Regions from separate parts of the Homo sapiens genome. Here regions 1 and 3 are each linked to region 2. The links are contacts of gene promoters, found by promoter capture Hi-C in blood cells and fetal thymus (Javierre and others, 2016). All regions are on one chromosome and are shown on one strand. The core of a region is centred on a gene start or on the middle of the fragment in contact, and the rest is flanking DNA. Distances in the headings are between cores, read along the strand shown. Region 1 has its middle 25 kb from the start of EMP1. Region 2 holds the start of GPRC5D (G protein-coupled receptor class C group 5 member D). Region 3 has its middle 42 kb from the start of EMP1.

Region 1 (3,965 bases), core at 792-3,291, 270 kb before region 2:
CGTTGGCTGATCTTTCAACTTCCAACTTCTTTACAACTTCCAACATTTTATTCACCCTTAAAGTTCATCTTAAATGTATGCACAGCTGGATGAGGACCAGAGCCTATTCAGCTACTTTAAATAAATGCAATGCTCTAAAGCAGAGGTCATTCTGCCCAGGCCTAAGGGCTGTACTACTTAGGAAACCCATGGATGTTTTAGGAGAATTTTATGAAAAAAATATATATGTGTACACTTTTACAGAGAGGGCTTTAATCACTTTTAATGACCCTAAAAATAGTAACAGACAACCCCCAGAGGCACATTTCCTCCCTTCTCTCTCAGCATCAATGGCACTCCGCCTGCATTGGAACCACCTGTCCAATTCCCCGAAACAGTGAGTGCCACAGGGGACCGGTTCTGTCACCCGTGATGATGTGTCCCAGCACCTTCCCCAGCCCTTCTCACACAATTATATTGAACATCTGCTAATTGCCAGGCATCCTGCTAAATGCTGAAGGAAAGGAAATGAAATATGAGTTCCCTGCCCTCTTGTAGCTCATGGTCCAGTGAGAGAAGCATGCAGTTTAACCCACTATTCAAATATTCTGTGACAAATGCTCTGATGAAATACACATATGATATTATGTAAACATTGACAAAGCTCATTTCAGTAGGGCCTGGGGCATCAGGCCACCCTTTTGGAGATGAGGAATGTGCTCTGATCCTGTGAAATCAGGATGAGTTAGCCGGATACCAGGGGAAGGACCTTCAGAAAAACAAATGACATGTGGGGAAAACCCCCACAACATGGTATAAGTGTGTGTTTTAGCCCTGGGATAGAGTGGCCATGGGGGAAAAGGCAGCAATAGACAAGTTCTGAATTTTATCCTGCACAACCTGAAGGAGAAAATGAAGGATTAAAAGCAGGAGAATGGCACGCTCATATTTGCACTGCAAGAAAATCAGTTTTTGCAACAGAGTGGAAAATTAGTTGGAGCAGTGAATTCTTATGAGCCTATTCAGCTACTTTAAATAAATGCAATTAAAGGTCTAAACTAAGATCACACTGAAGGGAATGGAAAGAAAGGGAAAGAATCTAGAAATATTTGGGAATTAGAATCACCAAGATACAGTTATTAATTAAATGTGAAGAATGGGGGAGAAGGAGGAATGGTGAGTGACGCTTGGATATCTGGCCTGTAATTCTAAGTGATAGGTGGCTATTTCCTGAGATGGGGAAGTCAAAGAAAGGGAGGAGAACTTCAGGGGTTCAGTTGAATTTGTAGTTCTTACGGCCCTGGCTTCAGAAAGCTGATCTGAGTCTAGATGCAGTTTTTGGATTCATTCCAATATAGGTGATCATTCATTATAGGAATTTTAATTAAATCCCATGCAAAATACAAAGATACAATAAGCAGCAGGCAAAAAAAAAAAAAACAAAAAGGTACAGGCTAAGAGTGCCCATTGGATTGGAGAATATAAAGTGAATCTTGATCCTCAGCAGAGCTATCACTTTGGAGTGCTGAGGGCAGAAGCTGATTGGCTCCAGGGAGGCCCGAGGTGAGGGAGTGGGAAGAGAGGCCTGAGCCTTGCACCCTTAGATCAGGCGGGAGGCCTTCTCTAGGCCTGTGCTTTCCTGGCTTTGCTCCAACCCTCCTCCAGCCACACCCTCCCGGGGGCAAGAAGTCCTTGGGCTCAGGACCAAAGGAGCACACCCACCTGGAGGCCACACCCTGCTGCCAGACTGCATTTTGATTGCTCGTGCTGCCAAAGTCCCTGGCCAAATGTCCTCATGCTCATGACTAAGCCCCTCTCCCTGGGCCTGTCAAATAGAGAGTGGACTGTGTTATGGGATGGCCTATGAGATGGCCCAGGGGCAGCTGTCTGCAAGATGGGGCATGGGTGAGGGCTGTTCTCAGATGTGTGGGCCGGAGTACCCACTCATATGCACTCCGTGTCTCTCATGGTGGGAGATGGGGCAGAGGAGGAAGGGAGAAGAAAGTCAAGCTATGAGCAGAGAGCCTGACACCCACTCCCCCAGTAAGCCGACTTCTACCCCAGGACTACAAGGAGTCTGAGTTTTTTCAATTTAACCTGACCTTCTAGGTATTTCTATCAAGGTAGGACAATAGAACACTTTTATTTAATGGCTTGTTAACTTGATATTACAACTTTCAAATATGTAGATATATGGTGTGCCTCTATGTGAGCTCTTACCCTTGACCCCAGAGACAGGGCCTGGTGGAGACGGATAATAAGAGACCAAGAGGCAAAGTATTAGTATAGAGAGGAGTGATTTTTTTGTTGTTGTTTGTGTGTTTTCTTTTGCTTAAGATATGGTAAACTTAAGCATATTTTACCCACAAGACAAAATCTCCAGTAGAGATATAGGGAGAAGAAGAATAACAATAGAGCATCCTTGAAGAGCTAAGAGAGCACAGCCTTCTGGCCAGGCACGGTGGCTCACACGTGTAATCCCAGCACTTTGGGAGGGCCGAGGTGGGTGGATCACTTGAGGTCAGGAGTTGGAGACCAGCCTGGCCAACATCTCTACTAAAAATACAAAATATAAAATTGAGCCAGGTGTGGTAGCACACGCTTATAATCCCAACTACTTGGGGGGCTGAGGTAAGAGAATTGCTTGAACCCAGGAGGAGGAGGTTTCAGTGAGCAGAGATGGCGCCACTGTCCTCCAGCATGGGTGACAGAGCAAGACTCCATCTGGAAAATAAAAAAGAGCATGGAGTTCAAAACTGGTGGTAGTGGGTGTTAGCTCCAGAAATTAGGAGCCACGCACGTTCCTCTGAATTAGGAAGAGTGGTTCTGGGGAATAAGGACGTCCAGGGTAAGGTCAAGAGAATGACCGGCTGAAATGAACCTAAGCTGAGCAATGAATAATTGTCTGCATTTATCTTTTATCTGTCCTTCCAGGAGCTCTGACAAGTACTAAATACAATGAGACGTAAAGAATTTAAATTATTCTGGGGAAAGAAATTAGTAGTCAGTTCTGGTATGCCATGTTGAAGTAAATTTCATAAGTGAGTATATGGAAAGAAATCTGGAGTTCAATATCACTGCCAGAATATTGCCTTGCTTTTTTAAAACAAGGTGACTAAATGTCAGACTAATTAGTGTAATCCATTTCACCCATAAATCTAGCACTATAATTCTCAAACTTGATTTTGCAACCCTAGTAACCTCAAGAGCTACTGCAAAACTATATCCAAATACTCAAAACAGGTTTACTTTTGATTCACCTTAAAAATTATAAGGACACATGTGCTCAATGTCAGCTTTTTATAAGACAGAGGAGAAGTGGTGAAATCAAATTAAAAATAGTACGATTTCATAATGCCCAAAAGCCTGTAAATGTCTATACTAAGGAGTTGGAATCATTCAAAATTCCCAGATAAACTGAATTTAAGCATTGATACATGATATGGTTTGGCTGTTCCCCCACCCAAATCTCATCTTGAATTGTAATCCCCCAAATCCCCATGTGTTGAGGGAGGGACCCCGTGGAAGGTGATTGGATCATGAGGGTGGTTCCCTCATGCTGTTCTTGGGATAGTGGGTTCTATAAAATTTATGGTTTTATAATGCAGTTTTCCCTTCTCTTGCATGCTCTCTCTCCCCTGTCACCATGTAAGACGTACCTCTTCCCCTTTTGCCATGATTATAAGTTTCCTGAAGCCTCCCCAGCCATGCAGAACTGTGAGTCAATTAAACCTCTTTTCTTTATAAATTACCCAGTCTCGGGTATGTCTTTATAGCAGTGTGAAGACGGACTAATACAATATGCTAATGCAAGTGGGAAAACTAAGATTGATTTTGGAATGAAACATGCAGTCTCAACTTAAGAACACCCAATTTACAAAACTATATATATCCAGACAGAGTCATACTGAATGCCATGTTCTCCCACATCAATGTCAAATGCTTAGCATGGCCAGCAAAAAGCTGTTCCTTTGCTGTAATGCAAC
Region 2 (3,762 bases), core at 946-3,445:
GAAAGACTGCTATTATACCCAAAGCAGGTAAAGGGGAGCTTAAGGTGTAATTGGATGTAAGAAAATTCTATCATCCCTAGAATCTTCTTCTCTCATAGGAGAAAATGGCTTTTTGAAGTTAAGGAACTCTAAAGATAGAACACCACTTCAGAATGATTTTGTCAAGGGTTTGTTAAGTCTCTCACTTATTTGCAGGTGTTTTCCATTAACACACATCTGTTGAAAAACCACACCACTAAAAAGGACCTTCTGAAAGATCTGGAATTTTATCTTTAGAATCATTCCATTAATTGAATTATCCATCACCCAGGAGGTTCTCCACATAGAAGCAGGTACTATGGGGACATAAAATGTGGAACCTGACCCCTAGACAGCTATAAATCCAATCAGGAGATGAGATTAATTCATATAACAGAAATTGAGACATTTATTATTCATTTATTTCAATTCATTATTACTTAATATGTATTCATAAGTTAACTAATAGGCAGAAAATAGGGTTTCTGTAATTTTGAACAGAACAGACCCCAAGTCTTGTATAGTTCCTGGTGGAAGGTGATCAGCGAGGTCTAGAATGATGAGGGAAGGCAGGAAGAGTCATAGAGGAGATAAGGTGAAGAAAATCCTACAGGGAGGGAATGAATTTGGGTCAAAAATAGGATAAATGGGAATCAAGCACAAGGCAGTTTCGGACAGGGACAGAGGTGAGCACTTGGGAACTTATTTTTTTTGTGAGCCAGTGGGAAAACCAAGGAGGCTAAACCATAGAGCCTGGAGATGTGAAGGAAGTACAGGTGGGTAAGAAAGGGAGAGCCAGATCACAAGCACCTTGAAACCAGACACTGGTTTGGGGTCTTCAGCAGTCCTCTGTCGAAATACATATATTCAGGGGCTGGGTGTGGTGGCTCACACCTGTAATCCCAGCCCTTTGGGAGGCAGAGGCAGGCAGATTACTTGAGGTCAAGAGTTCAAGACAAGCCTGGCCAACATGGTAAAACCCCGTCTCTACCAAAAATATAAAAAACTAGCCGGGCGTGGTGGCATGCACCTGTAATCCCAGCTACTCGGGAGGCCAAGGCAGGAGAATCACTTGAACCCAGGAAACGGAGGATGCAGTGAGCCGAGATCGCGCCACTGCACTCCAGCCTGGGCGACAGAGCGAGACTCCATCTCAAAAAAAAAAAAAAACAAACATATATTCAGGAAGAAAATCAAGGAGTAAATTGGAGGTGGCGGGGTGCGGTTGGTGGGTGTAGGCTGGACACTGTGCTGTGCTGTATTTTGTGTCACCATAGAAGAAAAGGAATATGGTATTCAAGTATCAGCCGGTGACCTTTAATTGTCAGTTCTTTATCTTGGGATAAATTCACAGACTGATTCACAGTTTTGCCTGCCACTGGCCATTTTAATGCCAGTAGTAGACAAAACCACCCTTCCTTATGGCCCAGTGAAACCTCATTACCTGTACTTTGTTGAATGGATGCTCTTTTGAATTAAAATCAAGATGTGGGGGCCGGGCAAGGTGGCTCATACCTGTAATCCCAGCACTTTGGGAGGCCAAGGCGGGCAGATCACGAGGTCAGGAGTCTGAGACCAGCTTGGCCAACATAGTGAAACCCCGTCTCTACTAAAAATACAAAATGTGGTGGCATGCGCCTGTAATCCCAGCTACTCGGGAGGCTGAGGCAGGAGAATTGCTTGAATCCGGGAGGCCAGAAGTTGCAATGAACCGAGATCGTGCCATTGCACTCCAGCTTGGGTGATGGAGCAAGACTCTATCTCAAAAAAAAAAAAAAAAAAAAAATCAAGATGTGAGAAAGTCTCCAGAGATGGCTTTTTAGGCAATAGGTCAGAAGAAGGACGAGGTATCCTGGTGTAAGTCACCTGAGGGCCTTGTGTAGCTTCCCTGAATGTGTTGCAATACACAGGGAGGAAGCCGTCTTTCCTAGATTTATACCCACTTTCAGATTTACACCCGCTCCCTAAGGCCAAGGTGCCTCTGGTCAGCAGTAGAATGAAAAAGAATTATTCTCACCAAGGAAATCTCTGTAGAAAAGTTGCTGTGAAACTGGAATAGGTGTGTCTTTCTGTCCTTCCGGTTCTTTTTATAGATACTGCAGGAACCTCAGTGAGAGCCTACGGTTCTTCCGCCCATTTGGGGAGAGATTAAAGAAGCTGAGGTTGGCTCTTTCTTACTCATTGGCAGTTACAACTTTGCCAGCACTACAGCCTAAGCTTCCAGAGTGGACACGGAGAAGGTAAGTTGGAATTGGGGGGCCATGTTCTCAGCTGTAAACCTGGGTCACTCCAGCCATCTGGTCTGGGGATAACTGAAGGGAAGTAGAGCTAAGGGGTATTCAATTGCAATTGATTTTTTTTTTTCAAATGAATATGTGGGATCTTTTTCCTAGGCTACCTCAGTCAAGACATGGACTTTCGTACTAAACTGTTCAAAAAGGTATTTAAAGAAAGGGACCATTTTGTACAATTCTTTGATGAACACACAATAGGTGTTTAACTACAACCTGCTGCATTGGATTGACTTGAATTAACTGAAAGAAGGAACAGTCATTAAAATTACTGGGAAATTTTATTCCCAGTAATTTATCTGCCTGTCTCCTTCAAGCAGTGCATCAGTGTCTAGAACGATCCAATGATCCATTAATGTTGGCAGTCCTTGTTCTGGAGTCTGATATAACTGAATTCCATCAATCATGCAAACATTCTCATACACCTCCTTTTATGAAAAAGATTTTGTATTAGCTTTCAAAGCCTTGGAAATTAGCATACACAAATGGACATATTATCAAGTGAAGCCTGTTCAGCTTTTCCCAGCAGGATGAAGCCAAGATAGTTTTGAAGGGTTTAGGTTGCCTTTCTCATTTCCTTTACTGACATCCTATATAAAACTGCTATAAATTTGGGGTAATATGTGTGATGGCATTTCCCATCCCCTTAGACTATGTTTGCATATATCTCTGAATTTCTTCCCCCAGGGAAGCTTAGCATTTAGATAAGTATCAGGAGTCAAACAAAATGTAACTCAGGCTCTTGACAGTGTCCTAGGAACAATTTTGGTAAGGACATTTATTTCATATGCCCAGGTGTCTTCATTTCAGAATGAGAGAAATTACAGTGCCCAGCATGGACCACCCAATAGGCATTCTTGTAGGTATTAGGTTGGTGCGAAAGCAGTTGCGGTTCTTGACGTTACTTTTTTTGTTTGTGTGTTTTTTGTTTTTCGGTTTTTGTTTTCAGACAGCGTCTCACTCTGTCGCCCAGGCTGGAGTGCAGTGGTGCGATCTTGGCTCACTGCAACCTCTGCCTCCTGGGTTCAAGCAATTCTCCTGCCTCAGCCTCCCAAGTAGTTGGGAATATAAGCGCATGCCATCATGCCCGGCTAATTTTTTATGTGTGTTTTTAGTAGAGATGGGGTTTCACCATGTTGGCCAGGCTGGTCTTGAACTCCTGACTTCAAGTGATCCACCCACCTTGGCCTCCTAAAGTGCTAGGATTACAAGCATGAGCCACTGTACCCTGCCTTGTTTTTTGCTTTTTGAGACAGAGTCTCACTCTGTCACCCAGGCTGGAGTACAGTGGGGCAATCTCGGCTCAATGTAAACTCTGTCTCCTGGGTTCAAGCGATTCTCCTGCCTCAGCCTCCCGAGTAGCTGAGATTACAAGTGTGCACCACCACACCCGGCTAATCTTTGTATTTTTAGTAGAGATGGGGTTTCACCATGTTGGCTAGGCTGGTCTTGA
Region 3 (4,091 bases), core at 573-3,072, 290 kb before region 2:
TGTAAGAAACAGAAAAAAAGTCCAGGACAAAACCTTGGCCATAAAAACACTTGAAGGAAAGGGGAAAGAAGAGAAGGCCAAAAAATATATATATATATATATTAAGAAGGAGCAACAGAGGTTCAAGGAAAATCAGGAGACTGAAGGACCAGGAGATCCAATAAAAACTGAATTTCAATAATCCCAAACATCCTAAAGAGTCAAGAAGGGAGATGTGGGTTAAGAAAAGCCACATGACACAGCATCTTGGAGAACACTGACAGTTTTCAAAAAAAACTATTTCTGCAAAGTGGTGGAAACACAAGCCAGGATGATTATGGCAGTATATTTTGTAGCGAGGGGAAGCATATATATATATAATCATTTACCTTATTTTCCAGCCTCATCAGATGTTTTCAAGGAACAGTTGCAGACTCATTGCCACAAAGTGTACGTCTTCACTAATTTAGTGCCTAGAATATTTTTGGAAGCACCTCAGGTTTTTCTTCAAGATGATGGCCATCAAGAACACCAAACATGCTTCAAGGGCTCAGAACAAGCCTGCCTTAGTCAAAGCATATGTTTTTAGTATGTTCAATGCTAATGACAAATCCTGAGCCTCTGGAGGGGTTCCCACCCCCCTACAACCCTATCCTTATCGTAGGAATGCCAGGAGAATTCATCTTTGGGGCGAAGACTGTCATTTTATTTGTGAAACACTTGAGTGGGACTTGTGGTTATGCAGATGTAAGACTCAGTGTCCAATCTAGGGGGAGGGATTAATACCATAAAGACCTCTGACTTCTAAACAGCAAAATGAAAGAGTTGTAGGCCTTGGGGGCAGAGACTGTCATGCTATTTACTTGTTTTTGGCTTCCTTGAGACTCTAGGAGTTGTGATTCAAGACGTGGGGAATAATGGGAGACAAGAATGCATGGACTATGGAAGAGTATGGCTCCAGCAAGATGGCAGAGACTAAGGAGGGAGACAACCCTGGGAGACTGCATTAGGGACTGGCCAATGGATTCTAGCAGCAGCAGAATCTGTTTTCCAATTTCACATTGTTTCTCCTCAAAGCTATACTTTTTTATAACCTAAGAAATGCATGTGTTCAGTAAAAAATTTCCTAACCCTTACAACCTGTCACTAATAACGAACTTTATTAAGTACTTACAACATAGCAAGCATTCTTCAAAGTGCTCTATGTATTTTAATGAATTAACTTCTCTGCTTTCTATTGCTTTTCCTTTATCTCTACCTCCCATTATTCATTCTCATTTATCTTTTCCATTGTCTTTCCCACTTTCTCCTCTCTCACTCCCTCCATTTTTTTCCCTCTACCTCTCTGTCACTCATTCTCACGGGCTCAATCTCACATAAAAATTAACTCGCAGAATGAGTTAACTTATTTAATCTTCATGGCAACCCAGGGAAAAAAGTATTATTATCAGCCTCATTTCACTGAGGTAAAAAAACTGAGTAAAAAACTGAGGTACAGGAGGTCATACAAGTAACTTAAGGTCATACAACTAGTAAGATTCAGAGCCTGGATTTGAACTCAAGAAGTTTGACTGCAAAGCTTATAATCTTAACCATTGCTACTCTCCATATCTTTGTGATTGCATTGGCTTTGGAAATAAAGGGAAGATCTACAATGACATCTTAAGATGGAGCGGACCAGAAATTGTGGTGCACTGTGGAGAGGCAAGGTGAGCCCAGCAGGAGAAACCTGGGATAATCTGCAGTAAGCCCTTGGCAATGATTTCAGGAGAATATACGCACTTCCTGGGGATGCCTAGAAGCCATCGAGAAGTAGCCTAGAGTTCCCACAGTATCATAGGACAGAGATTTTTAAGGAGAAATTTGCATATGAAAAAGAATGGGTTCTGCTTCTGTGAAATGTGATAATATATGCACGGTGATTTTCACTATGCTTGGATGCTCAGTAATTGGTCACTATATATGTTAAGTCTTCCTGCCCTTTTCTGATACTCTTTCTAACATCCCTTGAAGGGCAGTCCAAATTTTCACTCAATTACCATCATTCAGCTAACATTCACTGTCTGTTACTTGCAGGTCAGCAAGTTGACTCTATGGCACAAGCTTCCCCTTTTCTGGCAATGTTACTTCTGAGCCATGTTTGCAGCCTCCTAAGATGCTTTGCATACTGGAAAATAATTAAACTTACCCACAGATAAATAAACCAGAGTGAATCCATTTTTCTCTATTAATAAAGATTTATGTGAATATTTTTAATGAAGGTAACTGAAAGCAGGTGGAGGAATACGAAGTGTGTACGAAGCAGTTAGTAGTCAACTCGGCAGAGATCGAAGTGTGTCAGACTAAAACAAATATTAGTAAGAACAACATGTGGTCATTTTGCGCCTTTGTAGGAGGAAAGCCAATGAGAAACTTCAGTGTGGAAACATAACTGCTCTCCCACCAAACCCAAAAAGAAGCTAAACTGCTTATCAGGCATGGCGAGTATATGGTATGCGGTCAGCCTTATTAGCATATCTTAATTGAGAATTAGACCGTCATGGCAGAACACATTGTAAGTTTAAAACTTGGGAGACAAAATAATTCATTGAAATTCCCAAGGCACATCTTGTTTCCTACCTATTCCTTGAAATGTTTTCCTTTTTTTTCTCTCTTTGTTTTCCTGTTATTCATTTCTTCCTTCTTTCTTCTACCTTCAGCCATGCTCTCAACTTTCCTGTTCACTATCTAAATCCCTCCTTTTATACAATTATGTTTGTGATATATTTCCGCAATTATCAGAAGTTATTACTTCTTTTCTCTCCCCTCTCTGCTTTATATTGCTTTTCCTTTATCTTTGCCTCCCATTATTCATTCTCATTCATCTTTTTCATTGTCTTTCTCCCCTCTCATTCCCTCTGTCTTTTCCCCTCTACCTCTCTGTCACTCACTCTCACAAGCTCAATCTCACATACAAATTAAATTATTATAAAGAATTTCTTTGCTGGTTACAAATTCCATTCGTGCCCAGGGACTTAGGATTGCATAAGATTGGATGCATCTCACGCCCCGTTGCTCTAAACTGAAAATGTTTTCTTGACCCCCTCTCACTTCACACTACTGGAGGAATAGCATTATCCGTTATCTCCCCAGAGCAGCGATGGGAGGAACATACTGCTGAATATACATTTGGCCATGACTGCATCCATATTATGGAAGACATCATTTGCTCTTAGAACAGAGGACATCAGCACCGGCATTCACAGCCTCATCTGTTAAGTGTGTTTCCCTCATTCTGCAGTTGCTTAGCTCAGACCGGCGAGTACCTGGTGGGCAACCCTTCCTCTGAACTTGGTGGGGAATCATACAATCTGTTGAACTTGGCTCACATATAGCCTAGGAATGGGTACCCCAAATATTCCAGCACTGGTAGTAGTACTGGTAGGTGGTGTGTTTGAAACACAATCTCAAATAAAACAAAGCAACCATATCCCATGGAACTGGCTGTTTATCTCACATACTTGATCTGGTTGGGAGATGAATCAATGAGATCTGAAGTATTTTCCAGGGTACATACACAATGCTGTTGGTCTAGGCCTTGGTGTTATTCTCATGAGTGGTAGTCTAAATTGCAGAGCCATGCAGAGGGACTTATATTTGCCAGGAACGTATTAACTATATACTGCTTTCTGGGTAGTGGCTGGGACTTTGGAATAATTATTCTACAAGTTCACATGAGCATGAAAGATCTGACCCTGGGTGGGTCTTGGGGGCATTTTCTCTTCATGGCAAGCCTTGATAATGCCAAGCTCTAGCTGGCCCCTTAAGAAACCTCTGAGCCTTGGCCAGGGATGATTTTCAAGGTCTCTGACAGATCAGTAGTAAACAAAAAGTATCCCTGGACAGTCAAGAAGAAACCCCAGTTAATTGGTCTTCAAAATACCTAAGATCAGGCCAGGCACAGTGGCTCACACATGTAATCCCAGCACTCTGGGAGGCCTAGGCAGGTGGATTGCTTGAGCCCAGGAGTTCAAGACAAGCCTGAGCAACATGGCAAAACCCATCTCTACAAAAAATACAACAAATTAGCTGGGCATGATGGTGTACACCGGTAGTCCCAGCTACCCGGGAGG

The links. The method cuts DNA at HindIII sites, captures the fragments that hold promoters and counts their contacts. A CHiCAGO score of 5 or more calls a contact.
Region 1: a fragment that was not itself captured here is called in contact with the fragment with the promoter of GPRC5D in region 2 in 2 of 17 cell types (monocytes and naive B cells); the score reaches 6.6 in monocytes.
Region 3: a contact is called between a fragment that was not itself captured here and the fragment with the promoter of GPRC5D in region 2, in 4 of 17 cell types (M0 macrophages, M2 macrophages, M1 macrophages and 1 more). The highest score is 6.5, in M0 macrophages.

What each region holds. Positions count from the first base shown.
Region 1 is chr12:13,220,066-13,224,030 of GRCh38, reverse strand. No RefSeq gene overlaps it. Among named protein-coding and RNA genes, the nearest start is that of EMP1, 25 kb to the right of the region's middle. The HindIII fragment of the contact is 5,422 bases long and covers 1-3,965 here.
Region 2 is chr12:12,950,603-12,954,364 of GRCh38, reverse strand. GPRC5D (G protein-coupled receptor class C group 5 member D) reads left to right here and starts at 2,195. Exons shown (of 4, transcript NM_018654.2): 1 at 2,195-2,258. All of the region lies in intron 1 of GPRC5D-AS1 (GPRC5D and HEBP1 antisense RNA 1), which reads right to left. The HindIII fragment of the contact is 5,823 bases long and covers 1-2,237 here.
Region 3 is chr12:13,236,628-13,240,718 of GRCh38, reverse strand. No RefSeq gene overlaps it. Among named protein-coding and RNA genes, the nearest start is that of EMP1, 42 kb to the right of the region's middle. The HindIII fragment of the contact is 524 bases long and covers 1,561-2,084 here.